2 separate regions of the Homo sapiens genome follow, and region 1 is linked to region 2. Evidence: promoter capture Hi-C in 16 types of primary human blood cells and fetal thymus (Javierre and others, 2016). All regions are on one chromosome and are shown on one strand. The core of a region is centred on a gene start or on the middle of the fragment in contact, and the rest is flanking DNA. Distances in the headings are between cores, read along the strand shown.

The links. The method cuts DNA at HindIII sites, captures the fragments that hold promoters and counts their contacts. A CHiCAGO score of 5 or more calls a contact.
Region 1: the fragment with the promoter of ADAM22 here is called in contact with the fragment with the promoter of ELAPOR2 in region 2 in 3 of 17 cell types (naive CD8 T cells, total CD8 T cells and total B cells); the score reaches 7.8 in naive CD8 T cells.

What each region holds. Positions count from the first base shown.
Region 1 is chr7:87,931,740-87,936,343 of GRCh38, forward strand. ADAM22 (ADAM metallopeptidase domain 22) reads left to right here and starts at 2,512. Exons shown (of 32, transcript NM_001324418.2): 1 at 2,512-2,811; 2 at 3,287-3,447. The coding sequence starts at 2,727. RefSeq lists a silencer at 2,415-2,824 and enhancers at 2,931-3,508, 3,509-4,086, 3,635-3,684, 3,695-3,774. The HindIII fragment of the contact is 4,406 bases long and covers 161-4,566 here.
Region 2 is chr7:87,057,660-87,062,327 of GRCh38, forward strand. ELAPOR2 (endosome-lysosome associated apoptosis and autophagy regulator family member 2) reads right to left here and starts at 1,995. Exons shown (of 22, transcript NM_001142749.3): 1 at 1,666-1,995. The coding sequence starts at 1,854. RefSeq lists an enhancer at 957-1,457 and silencers at 1,723-1,792, 1,883-2,272. The HindIII fragment of the contact is 3,663 bases long and covers 178-3,840 here.

The DNA.
Region 1 (4,604 bases), core at 1,262-3,761, 870 kb after region 2:
GATCAAGACTGAAATCTAAGACCTGAAACCATAAAGATTCTGGAAGATAACTCAGAAAAACCCTTCCAGACATTGGCTTAGGCAAAGACTCCATGAGCAAGAACCCAAAAGCAAATGCAACAAAAGAAAGATAAATAGATGGGACCTAATTAAATGAAAAAGCTTCAGCACAGCAAAAGAAATAATCAGCAGAGTAAACAGACAACCCACAGAGTGGGAGAAAATTTTCGTAAACTATGCATCTGACAAAGGACTAATATCCAGAATCTACAAAGAACTCAAACAATCAGCAAGAAAAAAACAACAACAAACAATCCCATTAAAAAAGCGGGCTAAGGACATGAATAGACAATTCTCAAAAGAAGATATACAAATGGCCAACAAACATATGGAAAAATGCTCAACATCACTAATTATCAGGGAAATGCAAATCAAAACCACAATGCGATACCACCTTACTCCTGCAAGGATGGCCATAATAAAAAAAAATAGATGTTGGCATGGATGCAATGAAAAGGGAACACTTTTACACTGTTTGTGGGAATGTAAACTAGTATAACCACTATGGAAAACAATATGGAGATTCCTTAAAGAACTAAAAGGAGATCTACTATTTGATCCAGCAATCCCACTACTAGGTATCTACCCAGAGGAAAATAAGTCATTATACAAAAAAGAAACTTGCACATACATGTTTATAGCAGCACAATTTACAATAGCAAAAATATGGCACCAGTCAAAAGGCCCATCAATCAACGAGTGGATAAAGAAAATGTGGCATATATATACCATGGAATACTATTCAGGCATAAAAAGGAACAAAATAATGGCATTCGCAGCAGCCTGGATGGAAATGGGGACTATTATTCTAAGTAAAGTAACTCAAGAATGAAAAACCAAACTTTGCATGTTCTCACTCATATGTGGGAGCTAAGCTATGAGGACACAAAGGCATAAGAATGATACATTGGACTTGGGGACTCAGGGGAAAGGGTGGGGGATGGTGAGGGATAACAGACTACACATTGGGTACAGTGTACACTGCTCGGGTGATGGGTACACCAAAATCTCAGAAATCACCACTAAAGAACTTATTCATGTAAACAAACACAACCTGTTCCCCAAAAGCGATTGAAATACAAAAATAAATAATAAACACTCGGAAAAAAAAAATAGCCTCAAGTAACTACTGGCTACAGTATTTGAAAGGCACACCTCTAAATCTTAATTTTTTTCCTTTCTAAAATGGGAGTAGGCATGTGCAGTGGCTCACATCTGCAATCCCAGCACTTTGTGAGGCCAAGGTGGAGCCCAAGAGTTCAAGAGCATCCTGATCATCATGGGGAGACTCTTGTCTCTACAAAAAGTAATAATAATAACAAAAAATAGCCAGGTGTGGTGTCACATGTCTGTGGTCCCAGCTATTTGGGAGGCTGAGGCAGGAGGATGGCTTGAGCCCAGGAGCTTGAGCTGCAGTGAGCCGTGTTCTCACCACTTGCACTCCAGTTGGGGCGACAGAGCAAGACCCTATCTCAAAAATACATACATACATACATACGTACATACATAAATATAAAATCAGAGTAATAGTTATAATCAAATTCTTGACCAAAGGATCAGATAATACATGTGAACTTTGAAAAACTAAAAAATACAAGTATTACTTTATGTAGATAACTATTTTATTATTGTTTTATACTCAAGAATTTCTATCATTTTGAATCAGAGGAAAATGGAATAAGCAGCCTGAGAAAACTGAGTTCCCCATATCTGGTAGAGTTTTGAGGCTGTCTGGCAATAAAGAACAAAAATATCCCGTAGAGTTAAGCTAAATCATCCCTCTATTACCTGCAGAGACCTTCCCTGGGAGGTCCTCTTTGACTCCCTGGACTGAATTAATGGTCCTCTAGGTATAACCATGACACTTTTCACACTGTATTGTAAAAAAAAGTGGTCTGTCTGCTCAACTTTACCCAAGAACAGGTGCCTCTGATCCCCGTGTCCTTCCGGTTGTCAACCGCTGGGTACATAGTATATCCTCAATCTGTATTTGTTGAATAATTCACTAGCACTGTATTCGTGAGGGTATGGTTCTCCGGATAACTTAAGTAACTACTAATCTGTGGTAAACAGAACAGCTCTTTAAGGACGATGCAGATGAATACTGGCTGCTGTAACGGCCCAGTTGGTGCATCTCGGATGCCAGGAGGCGGTCCAGTGCTGATCTCTTTCTTTTGCCCTTCCCTCCCGCCCTTCCAGTCTGTGGGATATAGAGGACCTCACAGTCACGAGGTCGCGACGGTCCGTGCCGTCGTGGAGACAAGCGGGACACGGAGAGAGAACTACATTTCCCAGCTGACTCTCCTGCGCGCGCCCTTGCCTGCGCGCGGGGGGCGAGTGCACCGGGCGCTCGCTCCCTGCCGAGCTCTTGTCGCCCGCCCGAGCCTTTGCCAGGGGATGAGGTGGGAGGCGCTAGAAACCACTTAGCTACAGCCAACCGCCCAATGCAGCACTCGCTCGCTCCCCCCGCCAGCGGAAGCGTCCGCGAAGCACAATGCAGCACTGAGCCGCGGTGGAGGTTGCAGCGCCACGGCCGCCGCAGCACCGGCCGGGGCTGGGTGGAGGTGGCCGCGGGGACCCCGGGGGCGCGGAGCGAGGGAAACGGACTCGGCGGCGCCGGCATGAGGAGCTGAGCGTCTCGGGCGAGGCGGGCTGACGGCAGCACCATGCAGGCGGCAGTGGCTGTGTCCGTGCCCTTCTTGCTGCTCTGTGTCCTGGGGACCTGCCCTCCGGCGCGCTGCGGCCAGGCAGGTAAGTTAGCCGTCCTCTGTGCCTTTGGGCCATACCATTTCCCGGGAATCTTTGGAGCCCTCAGGCGTATTGAAAAGGGGGCATCCCCATTTCCCGAGTGCGCGGGGAGATTTTTTTTTTTTTTTTTTTTAATTCGGGAGGGTGGTGAGAAGTGGAGCAAAAATATATGTGTGGAGGCGCGCAGATGCACTGGAAGCCTTCGGTCAAAGCCTGTTTTTCTCCTTCTGAAGAGGAATGGGGAGAATGGGAAAGGGGTGCCCTGCTTCTGGGCCCCGCTCCTGGTTGCTCTCGGATGAGCTGGTCCAAGGCTCTCGGGCTGGTGTCTCTGCGTCCTTCCCAGTTGGGTTCCGAGAGGGAGGGGGCGGTGGGGATTTTCGTAGGGGAGACGTAGGACTGCAGGATGGAGGAGTGAGGGTCAGGGTCATTATTTTCGCCTTTTCTCTCCACTCCCTCCTTTCCCGGTTCCTGCCTGGAGGAGACGCCTCATTGATGGAGCTAGAGAAGAGGAAGGAAAACCGCTTCGTGGAGCGCCAGAGCATCGTGCCACTGCGCCTCATCTACCGCTCGGGCGGCGAAGACGAAAGTCGGCACGACGCGCTCGACACGCGGGTGCGGGGCGACCTCGGTGGCCCGCAGGTGAGAGGCTCGGTCCGGGAGGTGGTCCTCCGCGCCTCCCGGCCCACCCGAGACCCCACGATTGCGCTCGGTTGCCCTGGAGATCCCATGTCTTCTTGGGTGAAATGAGTTGGGTCCCGATGCGAGTCATGCATGGCGCTCCCTGTGCAAAAAAGAAGGGGAAAAGGGTACAAAAAAGAACCAAAATAACCACAGGCCGAGGGCTTTGCCCGAGGGGAGTTTGTGCGGGGTGCCTTCAGCAGTGCGGTGAGCTGAGAGAACAGGCGGAGAGCCCTCTGACATCTGTCAAGCAAAAGCCAGGCATGCACAGCGAGAAGGGAGGTAGTATTTGGGCAGGGTTTGAATCATCATTGTTGTTGTTTTACTCCTCAAAGAGACTTCATAAGTGATTTAACCCAAGGTTGACACTGTAAGAAAAAATTGGAAAAAAACAAGGCTAGACGTTCTTAAGAAACCCAACTGTAAAAACAAGCTGAACTTTAAGGTTCTATTCGCACACATTTGTGGACACCAGAGATATGCCCATTCACCCCTACCTTCTAGAAAAGGTGTCCTCCTCCGACTTTCTTTATTGGTAGCAGTTCTCTTGGTTTAATTAGGGCTGTGCTGTTTGTTGAGCATTTATAAATTATGTTTTTAAAAATCTAGTTTTTATCACTGTATCTGTATTTAAATCAAGATCACACATTCACAGATATGCCTGAAAATTACTGTGAATTTATTGACAAATTTAAGTAAATACTTCTGGGGCTGTGTATTTTTTTATTTCTACACATCAGCTGATCAGGCAGTTCACCCACCTGTAAGTCCATATTAAGATAGGACTTGTTCATGTACTTGAAAATTTTTGTAAACTTTACTGAAGCAATGGCAAGCCAAACCTTTTCACATGTATAAATATATTCATCAGTGCTTTAAGATATATCTTGATGATGTGATAATTATACTAACTTATCTGTATGTGTGAAATATGTAAAAATAGAAAATATTACTTAAATCTGTATTTGTAGCCAAGTAGTTGGTACTGTTAACATTTTGTTAATAGAAGGTGGGAAATTAGCTTAAAGGGCTACATAATATCCATCAAAGATTATTTTAGTAGAAAATCCCAATATGTTAAGCTTTTAATGATGGATTCTTTTATGTGAATTAATGGT
Region 2 (4,668 bases), core at 745-3,244:
CCCTCCTTTCAATCTTTGTTTTAGGTTGCAGACTCTTCTTTCTAGGTATACATGTGTAGGACATGTGTTCATCTAAAAGATTAGTCTAGTTGTAGAGACCAAAGGCATCACTTCTATTGACCCTGACCTTCGCCTACTTCAAGCAGATTTTCATTACTAAGAATCGATGTTATCAGAAGCTTAAGACTTTTCAGTTTAGAAAAATATATTCTGCATATTAGAAGTTGGGGGCTGGAGGATAAAGTTTATCTTGTCACAACTGTTCAATCTGAGATGTCCAAGAAGCAGCTTTCTGTGGAAACCTGGAATAATGGATTATTCCCAGGTGATATGTAAAGTTGTAGAATATAGATTAAGCTCATTATACTAAAAAGCCCTAAAATTAAACACAGCTGTTTGTTGAGCTCTTGCCCTGATTTCCCCAATTACAACATTGCTGTGTGTTCGCACACAAGCCTTTGATCCGATTCTCTTTCATTTCAGTCTGTCCTGGGACCTGTACTGTAGGAGAGAAAGACGAAAATCCATAGATGATGGATGATGTGTAGAACACAGATACTCTGTAATTCAAGTCTCGGTAAAATTCAGAAGTTAGAGCAACATACACAAACAAGAGGGTCTGGCCTTTCTTCCCAGAGGGGCTATTGGCTAACCTATTTTTGCTACATTAATTAAAACGACCCATCGCCCTGATTCCTAACAATCTTCCTAAAAACAGTATCTATTCCATATATCCTCCCAACACAATCAAAGTAGGTCAGAAATGTTGCTTCCTTCCCCTCATTGATTTTCATTAAGAGGATGCACTTTCTGAACACTAAATGGAAAGATAAACACCCAATACAAGAACCAATGACACCCCCTGTAAATTTTTGGCACACTGTCTCGTTCTTCTAAAAGCCAGATAAAAATCTCATCTCCCATAGTTTATCCTTTTTGGCTGTAAAACAACAATGATTACAAGCTATAAAATACACCGCGGCAATACTTCAGCCAGGTGATAAAGCACCTCCCAAAAGAAGCATATTCACTGTCTTTTCTAATTTTCTCCATCATCAACCTGCATCTTCTCTACCAAGTACATACTCCTTTTTTTTCCCCCCCAAATTCAAATCCACATTTTGTCAGAAGGATGCTAAGTGACACCATACATTGGCTTAGCAAACCCACAGGGCCTTAATCAGGAAGCTGAGGGCAGGGGAGTAGGACGAAGGCGTTTGCAGAGACAGGGGAGTGGAGACAGGGGGAGGAGGAGCGGGAAATCCTCTGGTGTCTGTGTCTGGCTCTCTGGAAAAGCTGTGATGAGATGGTTCTTCAAATCCCACTGGTGGGGCTTCCCCAGTCTCCTCCCCTTCCTGAAATCTTTCCCTCGACCCCAGGTCCTCAAACCTGGCTGTCCAAAAAGGACGCCGCAAAGTCCTGCAGAGCCCCCAAAAGACACAAGCGCGGACAGAAAAGCATCCCCCGAGAGACAGCGAAGCCACACACCCTCTCCGGGCCAGCTACCAGGGCGGGCAACTTCACCCCTCGAAGCAAACGAAAGCCCCTGTTCTCCAAGCAAAGGAAAAGGGGATGGCAAACAGAAATAAACAGGAACCGCTCTCAGCCTTCATCTTCCGCGCCCTCCCCCAGCAAACTCCAGGTAGAGGACCAGGTGCTGCTCACCTCCTGGCAAGGAGGAAGCGGGCGGCTGGAGGAGGAGGGCAGGTCCCCAGCCCAGGCCGCCTGGCAGCCGGCGAGCGCCCAGCAGCAAATCCAGGCGGGGCTCCAGGGCGGCGAGCGCCCGCGGCGGGGAGCCTCCGCCGGCCGCCCCCAGCCCCTGCCCCGTACCGGCCCCCGGGCGCGGAACAGCATCTTCGTCCGGCCGCGGTCGGCGGGCCGGCGGCAAGGCAGCCTTCCCGGGGTGCGGCGGCAGCTCCGGCTCCCGGGCCGCGACTGCTGTGCGCTCGTCTCGCCGCTCCGTCACCCGCTGCCCGTCCGCCCGCTGACAGCTCTGCTGCGCTCGCGGCCCGGGCAGCCAGCGCCGATGCTCCCGTCACGCCGGAGGGAGGGACCGCGGGGCGCGGGCGCGGCGCGGGGGCGGGACGCGGGGCGGGGACGCTGGAGCTGGGGAGCAGGTGGCGCGGGCGGGGGCTGCGGCCCAGCCCGGCGGGTCCCCAGGGGCTGCGCGGCGCTCGCCTCGCGCTAGAGGGCGAGAGAGGCTGGGGACCCCGTGGAGTAGCCTGTCTCAGGTCCCCGTGGCCCACTGGGAGGGGCGCTCCCGGGATGAAGCCAGAGTAAATACAGGACATCAGGACATTGTTTTCTGGCGGTGGGTCTTTAAAAAGCTCGCCACTTTCCTCATTGCACACAAACACGCAGATGTGCCCTCGGAACATCCCTTGTAAGGATCCATGCTGGCTAGCGTCAGATCGAATTTCTAGTTAGGGTGTGCATGAAATGGCGGGGAAGAAAGAGGACTGAGGTGTAGACGTGGTGTGTGACTCAGTTTTCTCACCTATTTAATGAAAATAATACCCACCACGTAGGATTATTATGAGGATTAAGTAAGTTGATGTACATAAAGCACTTGGAAGAGTGCCTGGCACACAGTAGGTGACATGTGTTGGTAGTAGTAGCCATAATTATTGCTGCTATTGGTGTTATTTTGTGGAGATGTGTAACATTGGGCATTAAGCCCTGTGTTTTCTGGAGGAAACAGTTTCTCCATCTGTGCGATGATTGAGGTGCTCTTCGTTTTTTCTTTCATTCAAAAACATACTGAACTAGGTGATGGTGAACAAGATGGACATAAGGCCTTCCTCAGTGGCAAGGATCTCAAGATCCCTTCTTGATCTCAGATTCTGTAAATGGGTGAGTTATTGTGTTTTTCAAAAGAAGCATCCAAATTTCTGATTATTGAATATCTGGACAAATCCACGTGGCCCACTCATTATAAGTTGGCCTGTGGCACATTTGTTTGTGGCATTATCTCTAATATCCTTTTAACAAAATTTCCACATGAAAGTCTCTGTATATGTGTGTTTGTGTGTATGTATACACATATAGATTTGTGTATCACACCTATATTCTGATTATAACAATATATGTTATTTGTAAACATTTTGGAAAATATTGAAAAGTATCAGGAAGAATATAAAAATAACTAGAGATCCTACCACCCAGAGATAACATTGTTAATGGTATTAACATGTTGAGGAATTTCCTTGCTTTTTTTTTTTTAACTCTGTGTGTACTGCAAAACTGGAATAATAATTTGTAACCTGCTTTTATTTTTATTCTTAATAACATAAATATTTTCTCAAGTCATTAAAGTCTCCAACAACACAACTTTAATAATTGTAAAATATTTTCTACTCTTTAGATACATGTAATTTACTATTAGATATTAGGCATTGTTTAAGGATTCAGTGTTATTAATAATTCTGGAAAGAATGCCCTTGGAACATAATCTGTGTGCATCTTTAAATATTTTATGATAACTTTCTAGAAGTGAAAACATTGGATCACATGATATGTGTATTTTTAAAGTTTTTGACGAATAGTGTACAAATTCCTTCCAAAAAATTTGTAGCAATTGTTACCAGCAGTTTATGAGTATTTATTTCACATCACCCTAGATTATAATACTTCAGATATTTATCATTTTGGTAGAAGAGACAAAAGCTATTATTTTTAAAATGTATTTTTATCATTGGTGACATCGAGTGATTTTTTATATATATCTACTAGCTATTTGCATTTTTCCTTCTCATGTCAGGGTGTGAGAATTTTTCACTGGCACACTTTAGCCATTTTATTGAAGTTCCATTTTTTATTGATTCGTTAGCAATCTTCATAAGCTTTGTGTATGTTTATCATATATCTTACAAATACTTTTTTGTAGTCTTTTAAATTTACTTCTGATAGCTTTTCTGGCAGAAGCTTGTCATCTTTAGGTATTCAAATGTAGCAACATTTTCTTTTGTGATTTCTTCCTTTTTTATATCTAGAAGTACACGTATCTCTGCAAAATCATACAGATGCCTATGTTTTCTTATTTTGTTATATTTTGTTATTATTTCCTTTTTATATGCTTTATTCTTTAATTCATGTGGAATTTTTAGGAGTCAAATTATGTTATGATTTTTGTCATCTGAGAAAGAACTAACAACATGACTATTAAATTGAAAACAGCTTCTTTCCTTATAAAAATAAGAGTCGTCCAGTCAATGCACTTGGATCAAATGACAATTGTAGATTTTCCAGAGTAGGACAACTTGCCACTTTCAATAAATACTTTTCTCATAGTTGTCCCATCCATAAAAAAGATCTTGACCTTGGATAATTAAAATCAGCATAAAGGCTGACAGAGAAAGGAAATTTCAAGAAGACTCTAAGGTCCTCTTCTACCTGTTATTTTAGGATGTAATAGCAAATTATTCAAAGTTTGTGATTATCTGATCAATAAATTTACTCTTAAAGATAGTTTTATAAAAATATACTTTAATAGAAAATTCATAATGAAATTTTTGCAAGAATGGGTTGAAATAGCTTACAATCACTAGGTAATAATCATTTTTCCACTTTATTTGTGCAGTGTATACCTGAAAATTGAACTGAATTTTGTTAAAAAGTCAACAAAAGCCTTAGCTGTATCAACAAAAGCCATAGCCAAAATGATGCTAT